Regions from separate parts of the Homo sapiens genome. Here region 1 is linked to region 2. The links are contacts of gene promoters, found by promoter capture Hi-C in blood cells and fetal thymus (Javierre and others, 2016). All regions are on one chromosome and are shown on one strand. The core of a region is centred on a gene start or on the middle of the fragment in contact, and the rest is flanking DNA. Distances in the headings are between cores, read along the strand shown. Region 1 overlaps SHISAL2A (shisa like 2A). Region 2 holds the start of ORC1 (origin recognition complex subunit 1).

Region 1 (4,740 bases), core at 2,107-4,606, 250 kb before region 2:
CAACCTGCACAGGTCCTAGAATAGAATGGATACCACTAAGTGTGCAGTAAATGGACAAGGGTGCTGGGTTTTAAGTGCTGAAAATAGGCTGGGTGCAGTGGCTCACACCTGTAATCCCAACACGTTCAAGGCTAGCCTAGGCAACATAGCAACCACCCGTCTCGATAAAAAAAAAATTTAAAAATTAGCTGGACACAGTGGCACGCACCTGTAGTCACAGTTGCTTGGGAGGCTGAGGCAGAAGGATTGCTTGTGTCAGGAGTTTGAGGTTGCAGTGAGCTATGATCTCCACTGCACTCCAGCCTGGTGACAGAATGAGACTGTCTCAAAAAAAAAATGCTGAAATAAAAGAGCACACACACACACACACACACCACCACCACCACCACCACCAACAACAACAAATGAAGCAAGACCAGAACCAAAATCTCTTGACTTCCAGCCTAGAACACTTCTGTGGGTGACTCACCCTGTCTTGCCACCCCATCATGTACCCTTTGGCTGGCCTCAGGCACAGGTATCTAAGAGTGACTCTTTCACTGTTGCCAAATCCAGCAGCAGGTCATGTCACTGTCTGAAATGTCAAGAGCTGCTTTTGGTGGCTGCTGAGCTGCGTCTCCACAGTCCTTGTCTTGCATTCCGAAGGCGAAGCCTAAAAGCCATCGCCAAAGTTAGGAGAGCAGCCAGGAGGGAGGGCTGACAGTCAGCATCTTGCCCTAAGATTCCTTTGCGATCAGATTAATAATAAGACATGTTAAAAATAATAATAATAGCTAACACATAGTGCTTTCCATTTGCCAACACTTTTCTATGTACTTGCATGGACTTAGTAATTTAGTCCTTCCCCAAGCCCTATTAGAAGATACTACTAAGATTCCAGCTTATATAGATGAGAGGACTGAGGCACAGAGGTTACCTAGCAAGTAAGTGACAGGGGCAGGATTTTAACCAGGCATTTGGCTCCAGAGTTGTTCAGTATTACATAGTTTACTGTTATTGTCCATTTGTAATTTAAAAAGTCTTTTAGCAGGAATACTATGTTATCATCCATTGGTCATTTAAAAAGTCTTTTAACAGGCCAGGTGTGGTGGCTCACATCTGTAATCCCAGCACTTTGGGAGGCCAAGGCAGGCGGATCACTTGAGGTCAGGAGTTCAAGACCAGCCTGGCCAACATGGTGAAACCCCGTCTCCACTAAAAATACAAAAATTAGCCAGGCATGGTGGCACACACCTGTAGTCCCAATTACTTGGGAGGCTGAGGTGGGAGGATCACTTGAACCCGGAAGGCGGAGGTTGCACTGAGCTGAGATCATGCCATTGCACTCTAGCCTAAGTGACAGAGCAAAACTCCGTCTCAAAAAAAAAAAAAGTCTTCTAGTAATTTAATGTTTACGAAGTGAGTTCAAATCCATCACCTCATTGAACACTTGCAATAACCCAGCAAGGGGACTGAGGCTCAGGAAGACAAGGGACTTTATCAAGGCCACACAGTGGCAGAGTCCACCCTCTGGAGCCTGTATTCAGTCTGATAACCATTCATTCATTCATTCATTCTTCTTCTTTTTTTGTGATGAGGTCTTGCCCAGGCTGGAGTGCAGTGGTGTGATCATAGCTCACTGCAGCCTCGACCTCCAGGGCTCAACTGATTCTCCTGCTTCAGCCTCCCAAGTAGCTGCAACTACAGGTATAAGCCACCACATGTGGCTAATTTTTAAATTTTTTGTAGAGTCTGGGTCTCACTGTGTTGCCCAAGCTGGTCTTGAATAAGTGGGCTCAAGTGATCCATCCACCTTGTCCTCCCAAAGCTCTAGGACTACAGGCGTGAACTGCCGCGCCCTGCCCCTATTCATTCTCTCACTTAGCACTCACTCCTTCATCTACCTAAGAAATAGAATGACGCCTGAGCCCTGTGCACAACATACTCCCTCTCTATCCGTCCCTCTGCAAGGGGCTTACTCCAGGATGGCGCACTCCAGGGTGAGGCAGAGCTGCTGAAGAGGCAGAGATCATCCCCCTCTGAGGGCTAATCATCTTCTCAGGGGCTCCTAAATACACCTACTGTGGGGCAGGAAAACCATGTCAGAGTTCTCTGACTTCCCAGTTGGGTGAGGGGCTCCTCTGTGCCTTCACAGGCCCCAGGCTTCCACCCGATTGCATGGAGTTGTTACTGACCATTTTTCCTAGGAGTCATGTCAAAGTTCTTTGGCCCACAATAGGCCAAGCAGAACAGTATGGCAGGGTCCACAGCAGGGCTGGGTATCTTTGCTGGGAGAAGCCCTCATTTATCATGCTAGGCTCTAAAGTCCTTTCCCACTCCCACCTTTCACTGAAGAGACTCCAGAAGGGGATGGTATGGAGACATTTATTGAATGTTTATGGGACTGGTCCACATAGGTCAGGGTTGGGTACAGAGGCTTCCTCAGGGCTGCCTGGAATGTCACTGGTGGTCACTGTGGCCATGAAGCAATGATGGAGGAGGCGTTTGGAGTTCACAGCCTGCCCCTCATTGCTCTCCAGCTGCGGGTTCAAGCAGGAGTAACTCTGCTGGAGAGGGCTCACTTTTGGCACTTCTGCCGCCATGCCTGTGTTCACACCTTGGCAGTCAGGAGAAACCTCCTCAGGGCCTGGAAAACAGCAAACTGAGGGTGTGTGGCTCTCTTCTTCCCCAACAGGATCACACTCCCCAGCTGACTTCTCTGGTGCTTACCTTGGGCAGTGCACTGTGGTCAGAGCCTTAGAAGCATCATTTGTTTAACATGTATTTATTAACAATACACCACATTATGCACTGAGAGCTGTCAGTGTTGCTCATGAACTTGTAGTTTGGTGGAGGAAACAGATAAGAAACAATTGTTAAGAGCTATGAAGACTTGACCTTCACCATAACCCTATGAGGTAGGTACTATTAGAAATCCATTTTATAGATGAGAACACAGGATTACCATACAGCTAGTATGGAGAAGAGTGGTGGACATTTTTAAAACATAGATTGTTCTCGCTTTGAGAATAGATTCCATGCTTCTCTTTGCTGAGTGACTTATCTTCTCTCTTCCTCTTAAATCAAAGCTTGAAAGGAAGTCCACTTGGCCTTATTATTCTCTACCTTCCATTCATGACTTGTTCAGCTGCAACTTACTTTGTTCTGCCCCCACTATACCTTCAAACTATTTGTCACTAAACCCATAGTCACTTCTAAATCCTTATCTCCCTTATCAGGAACATTTAACATTATTTATTTATTTTAAATTTTACTTTACCAGTTATAGGACTCTGATTCTTTTTTCCTTTTTCTTTTTTTAATCAGGAGCATTTGACACAATTGAACATTTCTGTCTTTCTAGATAAAAAAATGTATCAAGTGTTTAAGCCAAAAATTCGAGTCATCTCTCACACCTTCTACCTCGGCCCTTTCACAAAGCCAGGTCCTGCTGGTTCCACCTAATAGTCATCTGTGGTATCCACCCATTTCTCTCCATCCTCAAGGCTACCACCTTAGATCAGGCTTTCATCTTCTTCTGCCCAGACCCCTGGAACGGCCTCCAGTGGGGGCCCCTCCATCACGTCCTCCATGCTGTAGCCAGAGAGATCTAAGATCTTTCTAAGATCAAGTGAGTCTATGTACTATTCTTTCTGAAAGCTTTCAATCTCTTTCCATTACCTGTGCTCCTTGAGATGGCATCTCATTGTGGCTTTAATCTGCATTTCCTTAATGACTAATGAAGTTGAACATATTTTCATGTGCCTATTTGCCACCTATATATCCTTTTTCAAAAACATTATTTTATTTTGAGATAGGGTCTTGCACTGTTGCCAAGACTGGAGTGCAGTGGCTTGAACATGGCGCACTACAGCCTTGACCTCCTGGGCTCAGGTGATCTTCCCACCTCAGCCTCCTGAGTAGCTAGGTCTATAGGTGTGCACCACCACATCCACCTTTTTTTTTTTTTTTTTTTTTTTTTTTGTAGATACAGGGTCTCATTATATTTCCCAGGCTATCCTGAAGTCCTGGGCTCAAGTTATCCTCCTGCCTTGGCTTCCCAAGTTGCTGGGGTTACAGGCCTGAGCCACCATGCCTGGACATTTTAAAACATAGATTGTTCTCTGTTTGTCTTTAATGAAGTGTCTGTTCAAGTCTTCTGCTCATTTTCTAATGGGATCATTTGTTTTCTTAATGTTGAGTTTAGGGTGTTCTTTATATATTTTGTTTTATTTATTTATTTATTCATTTATTGAGACATATCACTCTGTCACCCAGGCTGGAGTGCAGTGGCGTGATCTCAGCTCACCACAACCTCCATTTCCTGGGTTCAAGTGATTCTCCTGCCTCAGCCTCCTGAGTAGCTGGGATTACAGGCTTGTGCCACAAGACCTGGCTAATTCTTTTTGTATTTTTAGTAGAGACGGGGTTTCGCCATGTCAGCCAGGCTTGTCTTGAACTCCTGACCTCAAGTGATCCACCCACCTGGGCCTCCCAAAGTGCTGGGATTACAGGCATGAGCCACCACACCCGACCAATCCTTATATATTTTGTCAAATATGTGAATATATTCTCCAGTCTGAGGCTTGCCTTTTCATCCTCTTAACAGGATCTTTCACAGCATTAAAATTTTGAACTTTGATGAATACTGGCTTATCTTTTTTAAAATGTATTGTGCTTTTGATGTCTTGTTTAAGAATTCTTTGCATAACCGCATGTCATGAAGATTTTTCCCTGTTTTCTTCTAAAAGTGTTAGAGTT
Region 2 (4,809 bases), core at 1,426-3,925:
TGCAGTGAGCCGAGACTGCGCCACTGCACTCCAGCCTGGGCAACAGAGCGAGACTCTGTCTCAAACAAAAAAAAGAGTTGTTCCTCTTCCCTTTTTCCTATATCTAACTACTTAAATTTCCTCTTGGGTAACTAGGAGGCTTTTGAAAGTCATAGTTTCTTTGTACGAGAAGCAGAATACTGTAGCAAAGAATATGAACTCTGAAGCCAGATTTGCCACTTACTAGCTGTTTGAACTTGGGCAAAATTAATTAATCTCTGTGCCTCAGTTTCCTCTCCTGTAGAATAGGGATTAAAAGTTTAGAAGGTTGTTGTGAAAGTGAAATGAATTATTATATGCAAAGCCCTTACAGCATGGCACATAAGAAGCTATTATGTCTGTCTCCTATACTTGTTTGTGATTTCCTCGAGAATCGGTAATACGGTAATAAGCTGACATTTTCTAGGTGTTTACCATGCAGCAAGTGCTGTGTTCAGAGATCTGCATGCATTACGTTCTTTCACTCTTATATTATAGTCACCATTTTACAGATAAGCAAAGTTTAGAAAATTAAGTAACCTCTCCAATGTCATAGTTAATGGGCAACAGAATCTGGATGTGAACCCAGATCTTACACCTCTTAACCACCACCTTTTGTTGTTTGATTTTCACCCCTGAGCGTCCAGTGCCTACCAACATATCAGGCACTCACTTTTGCTTAATATGTATTTAGTGAATCTGTGAAATCCTTTTTCAGGGAAAAATTACCAAAACTGAGAAAGTAAAGTAGAAGATTAATACAATCAGAACAGATAAAATACAAACTTGGCAGGGTGTGGTGGCTCATGCCTGTAATCCCAGCACTCTGGGAGGCCCGGGGGGGGAGGGGATTACCTGAAGTCTGGAGTTCGAGACCAGCCTGGCCAACATGGTGAAACCCCATCTCTACTAAAAATACAAAAATTAGCCAGGCGTGATGGCACATGCCTGTAATCCCAGCTACTCGGGAGGCTGAGACAGGAGAATCACTTGAACCCAGGAAATGGGGGTTGCAGTGGGCCGAGATCGCACCACTGCACTCCAGCCTGGGCAACACAGAGAGACTCTGTTTCCAAAACAAAAAACAAACAAAAAATACAAACTCAAGGGCTCAAAAGCAAAAATCTGGAGTGGAACTCTCTAGAAATGAGATACATTGTGTACACCCCTCTTAACCAAAGCCCAATTCTAAACCGCCAAAATTAAACCTCTTATATTAGCTAGTGAACATTGCACTCACTTGAAATCTTCATTTTTGATAAACTCTACAATGATATCCTTCTCGGGTTGAATTTGAAGCATCTTCAAGGTTAAACACAGAAAGGGTGTTGGTTTTATGTTGCCACCATAGACGCCACCCACAAACCTTAACTCCATGGCTTTATCGACTACAAGTTCAGCTAAAAAACAAAAACAATACAGTAACATATTAGGGCTAAGCTCTTCCTAGTTGGAGTGGAGTTAGTTCAAGCTTTGGTTCTCCTAAATATACATCAACAGTGTAATATTAGGAGAACGAATGTGTATTAATAACAGTAACGACAACAGCTAATATACATTGAGAATGGATAATAAAATAGGTACCCTGCTAAGCTTTTCATATTATCTCACTTAACCTTTTTTAACAAGTCATGAAGAAAGTTCTAGCAATGTTCTTATTTCCAGGTAAGGAAAATGAGGGCTAAGAAAGGTAAAGTGACTTGCTCAAGGTCCACAGATTGTCACAGGACATGGATTTAAAGCCACAATTCAAATCGGAAGATTACCTGGAAGACTTCTCTGAAGCACTGATATTTATAAATACTGGAACCGGCCCAGATCTAAGAATAGTAAGATCATGAATTTGGTTTCAGGCATATTAACGTTAGGTCCTTAAAGACCTTCAACAGATTGTGTCAAAGTGTTATATCCGGATCCCTGAGCTTAACACTGTTGCAACCCAGCCTGCTATCATTAAATACGGAATAACTCACAACACCCAACTGAGACAGCCTTCAGAATATGACCTTACCAGATTCATCTGTGCCTCTAATACTCAACACAAGACGAGGCACTTAGCAGGCACTCAAAATTTTTCTGAATGATCGACATACTCCGTTCCAGTACCACCCCCAGAGGCCAGTCGCTAGTCCTACCCGCGCTCGGTCAGGAGAAATGGGCCACAAGGGGGCTGAGAGGCGCTCCGCGCGCTTCCACTTACCTGTAAGTCCAAAGCACTCCTCTTTCCAGTACTTGGACTCATAGATTCGCGTTCGAATGATCTTCTCCACCAGATATTGAGGGTTGGTGCCATGGATGCTGTGCGCATCCTTCACTGTACGGTTAGCCATTTTAGAATGCCTTCAATTCTATTTCCGTCGGATCCTTTAATGCCTCACATCCAGGTTCAGAAAAAGCACCTAGAGGAATGGAGAAAGGTGGAAGAAGTTTCACTAAACAGCTTAGGCGACCATCTTGAAGCCGGAAACACCGTAGTGTAAAGGGCTTCCGCTCCCCGCGTCGCCTATCGAATCAATGATGGCGGCTGCATGTTAGCGGATGTACGTCATGCGCCCCTCTTAGGTGTACGGAGTGGGCGGGGCGAGCTAGTTGGTGTCGCAACGAAGGGACGGTCTGGGGGCGGGGCCACGCCGATTGGCGCGAAGTTTTCTTTTCTCCTTCCACCTTCTTTTCATTTCTAGTGAGACACACGCTTTGGTCCTGGCTTTCGGCCCGTAGTTGTAGAAGGAGCCCTGCTGGTGCAGGTTAGAGGTGCCGCATCCCCCGGAGCTCTCGAAGTGGAGGCGGTAGGAAACGGAGGGCTTGCGGCTAGCCGGAGGAAGCTTTGGAGCCGGGTGAGTGTGGCGTCCAGCGGGCTGCGAGGGACTCGGGGGAGGGCGCATCGGAACCTCTGAAACTGAGGACGTTCTCTGTAGACTCAGTCATTGATTCTTTTAGCTGACATGTACCAAGCGCCTGTTCAGTGCCAGGCACTGTTCTGAACTGTTAAGAGCGTTCCTCTGTTCCACACTCCGATTCCTAAAAGGCTTCCCGCGCTGCAGGGAACTGAGTTTGCAGGGGGGAAGGCGGAAGCCAACAGCCTAGAAGCAGGAGCATTCCTGCCCTCCGCACCCTGATGCTCAGTGATGACTTTCCCTCCATCTGCATTTGTAAAGCACTCTACTTGTTTCGTTCTTTGAGCTATAGTGTAGGAACCACTACAGGGAAGGCGGAGCAGAGGTTATTACCCCATTTTACGGACGTAAATTGCGCCCAGGGAGGGACGTGTCTTAGGTCGCTTTTCGTGACTAAGCAGTCTGGGCTCCTACCCAGATCTTTTTTTCAGATGAGCTCCTAACTGCTGGGCTGTCTGTCATTCACCTTCTTTTCAGAAGAGAAGTCTGGTGGCCCCCTTCCTACTTCTCTTTTCTAACCCCGGAATTGAAGAGTCTTCTGCTGTGACAGTTGGAAAAGGCATTCTTATCCTGATCTATTTGTGAAACTGCAATGATTATATACGATTCTAGTTGTCTGTAACACATGAATAATAGTACCCTCGTCTCTGCTGTGTTAGGTGGGCTGGAAATGCCAAAGGAGTTTCCAATATGACAGAATGGTTTAAGTCCCTTTGCAACAGTTTTTAACTTTAATGGAGGGCAATATGTGGACTTTAGGAGGTTTGTGAATCTGCCGAAATTGAATGCAAAATTTTGCTTGAATTATGTTAGTTCCATAGTATTCATCAAATGATACTTAATAAATAAAACCACTGTACCTTACAAATAAATGCAAGGGATTAAGGTAGTGGGAAAGTGGATTTACCATTTTGCATTTTTTCACTTAATCTTCCATTATCCTAAAATAGTGCCTGGCACACGATGGGTACTTAATAAATATTGGTTGAATAAACGGAAGATTCTATTTTCTCCATTTTGTGGGTAAGCAAATTGAGGCCCAATCCACAATGTTCAGTCAGTGGCTGGGAAGCCTGATTTATTGTAATAAGTACACCAAAAGCAAGCTCTCAGTTACATATTAACATTATCCAGTTTCACACAGTGTGTTGTAAGGTGAAGTAGTTAAGAGCACAGTAATTGCAGTCTGGCTTTTCCGGGTTTGAGTTAAGGCTGTGCCATCCTGTATAAGATAGGATAAGTTATCACCTTGAAGTGATAATAACATCTACTTTTCTTTTTTTTATTTTGAGACAGAGTTCTGCTCTGTCACCCAGACTAGAGTGCAGTGTTGCGATCTCGGCTCACTGCAGCCTCCACCTCCCGGGTTCAAGTGATTTGCCTGCCACCATGCCCACCTGATTTTTGTATTTTTAGTAGAGACGGGGTTTCACCATGTTGGCCAGGCTGGTCCCGAACTCCTGACCTCAGGTGATCCACCCACCTCAGCCTCTCAAAATGCTGGGATTACAGGCGTGAGCCACTGCGCCCAGCCTTTGTATTTCTGTTTTATCCTTGTGTGCATTTTATAAGCGTCATGAAGACATTTACAACCCCTGTATCACTGTCTTTTAATTTCACTTTGTTAGATGTTTTACACCTATTGTTCTGCCTTATTCCTAGTATTTCTAAATGTTACAGTTTCATTTCTTAGGAATTGACCTTTCTGTTTTCCTGGATGGAAAGAGATACGGCATAGTACAAGATGGACACAGATGATACTAAATTGCCTGTGTGTAATCTTCGTAGACCATGACTTCAAATAAAATGTTTTCTTAGTCTAAAATGTATGGGAGTGTAGCAGGGGCAGAAAATAAGTCTGATCTCATTTGAAGGGAGGGACTGACTATGTCTTAGA

Evidence for each region. Contacts are between HindIII fragments. The CHiCAGO score rates a contact against its expected background, and 5 or more counts as called.
Region 1: a fragment that was not itself captured here is called in contact with the fragment with the promoter of ORC1 in region 2 in 2 of 17 cell types (endothelial precursors and naive CD4 T cells); the score reaches 6.0 in endothelial precursors.

What each region holds. Positions count from the first base shown.
Region 1 is chr1:52,654,676-52,659,415 of GRCh38, reverse strand. It overlaps SHISAL2A (shisa like 2A), which reads right to left. Exons shown (of 3, transcript NM_001042693.3): 3 at 2,351-2,626. The coding sequence ends at 2,376. Among named protein-coding and RNA genes, the nearest start is that of SHISAL2A, 24 kb to the right of the region's middle. The HindIII fragment of the contact is 571 bases long and covers 3,071-3,641 here.
Region 2 is chr1:52,402,289-52,407,097 of GRCh38, reverse strand. ORC1 (origin recognition complex subunit 1) reads left to right here and starts at 2,675. Exons shown (of 17, transcript NM_004153.4): 1 at 2,675-2,852. It overlaps PRPF38A (pre-mRNA processing factor 38A), which reads right to left and starts at 2,496. Exons shown (of 10, transcript NM_032864.4): 1 at 2,219-2,496; 2 at 1,259-1,418. The coding sequence starts at 2,348. RefSeq lists an enhancer at 1,977-3,176. The HindIII fragment of the contact is 1,229 bases long and covers 1,614-2,842 here.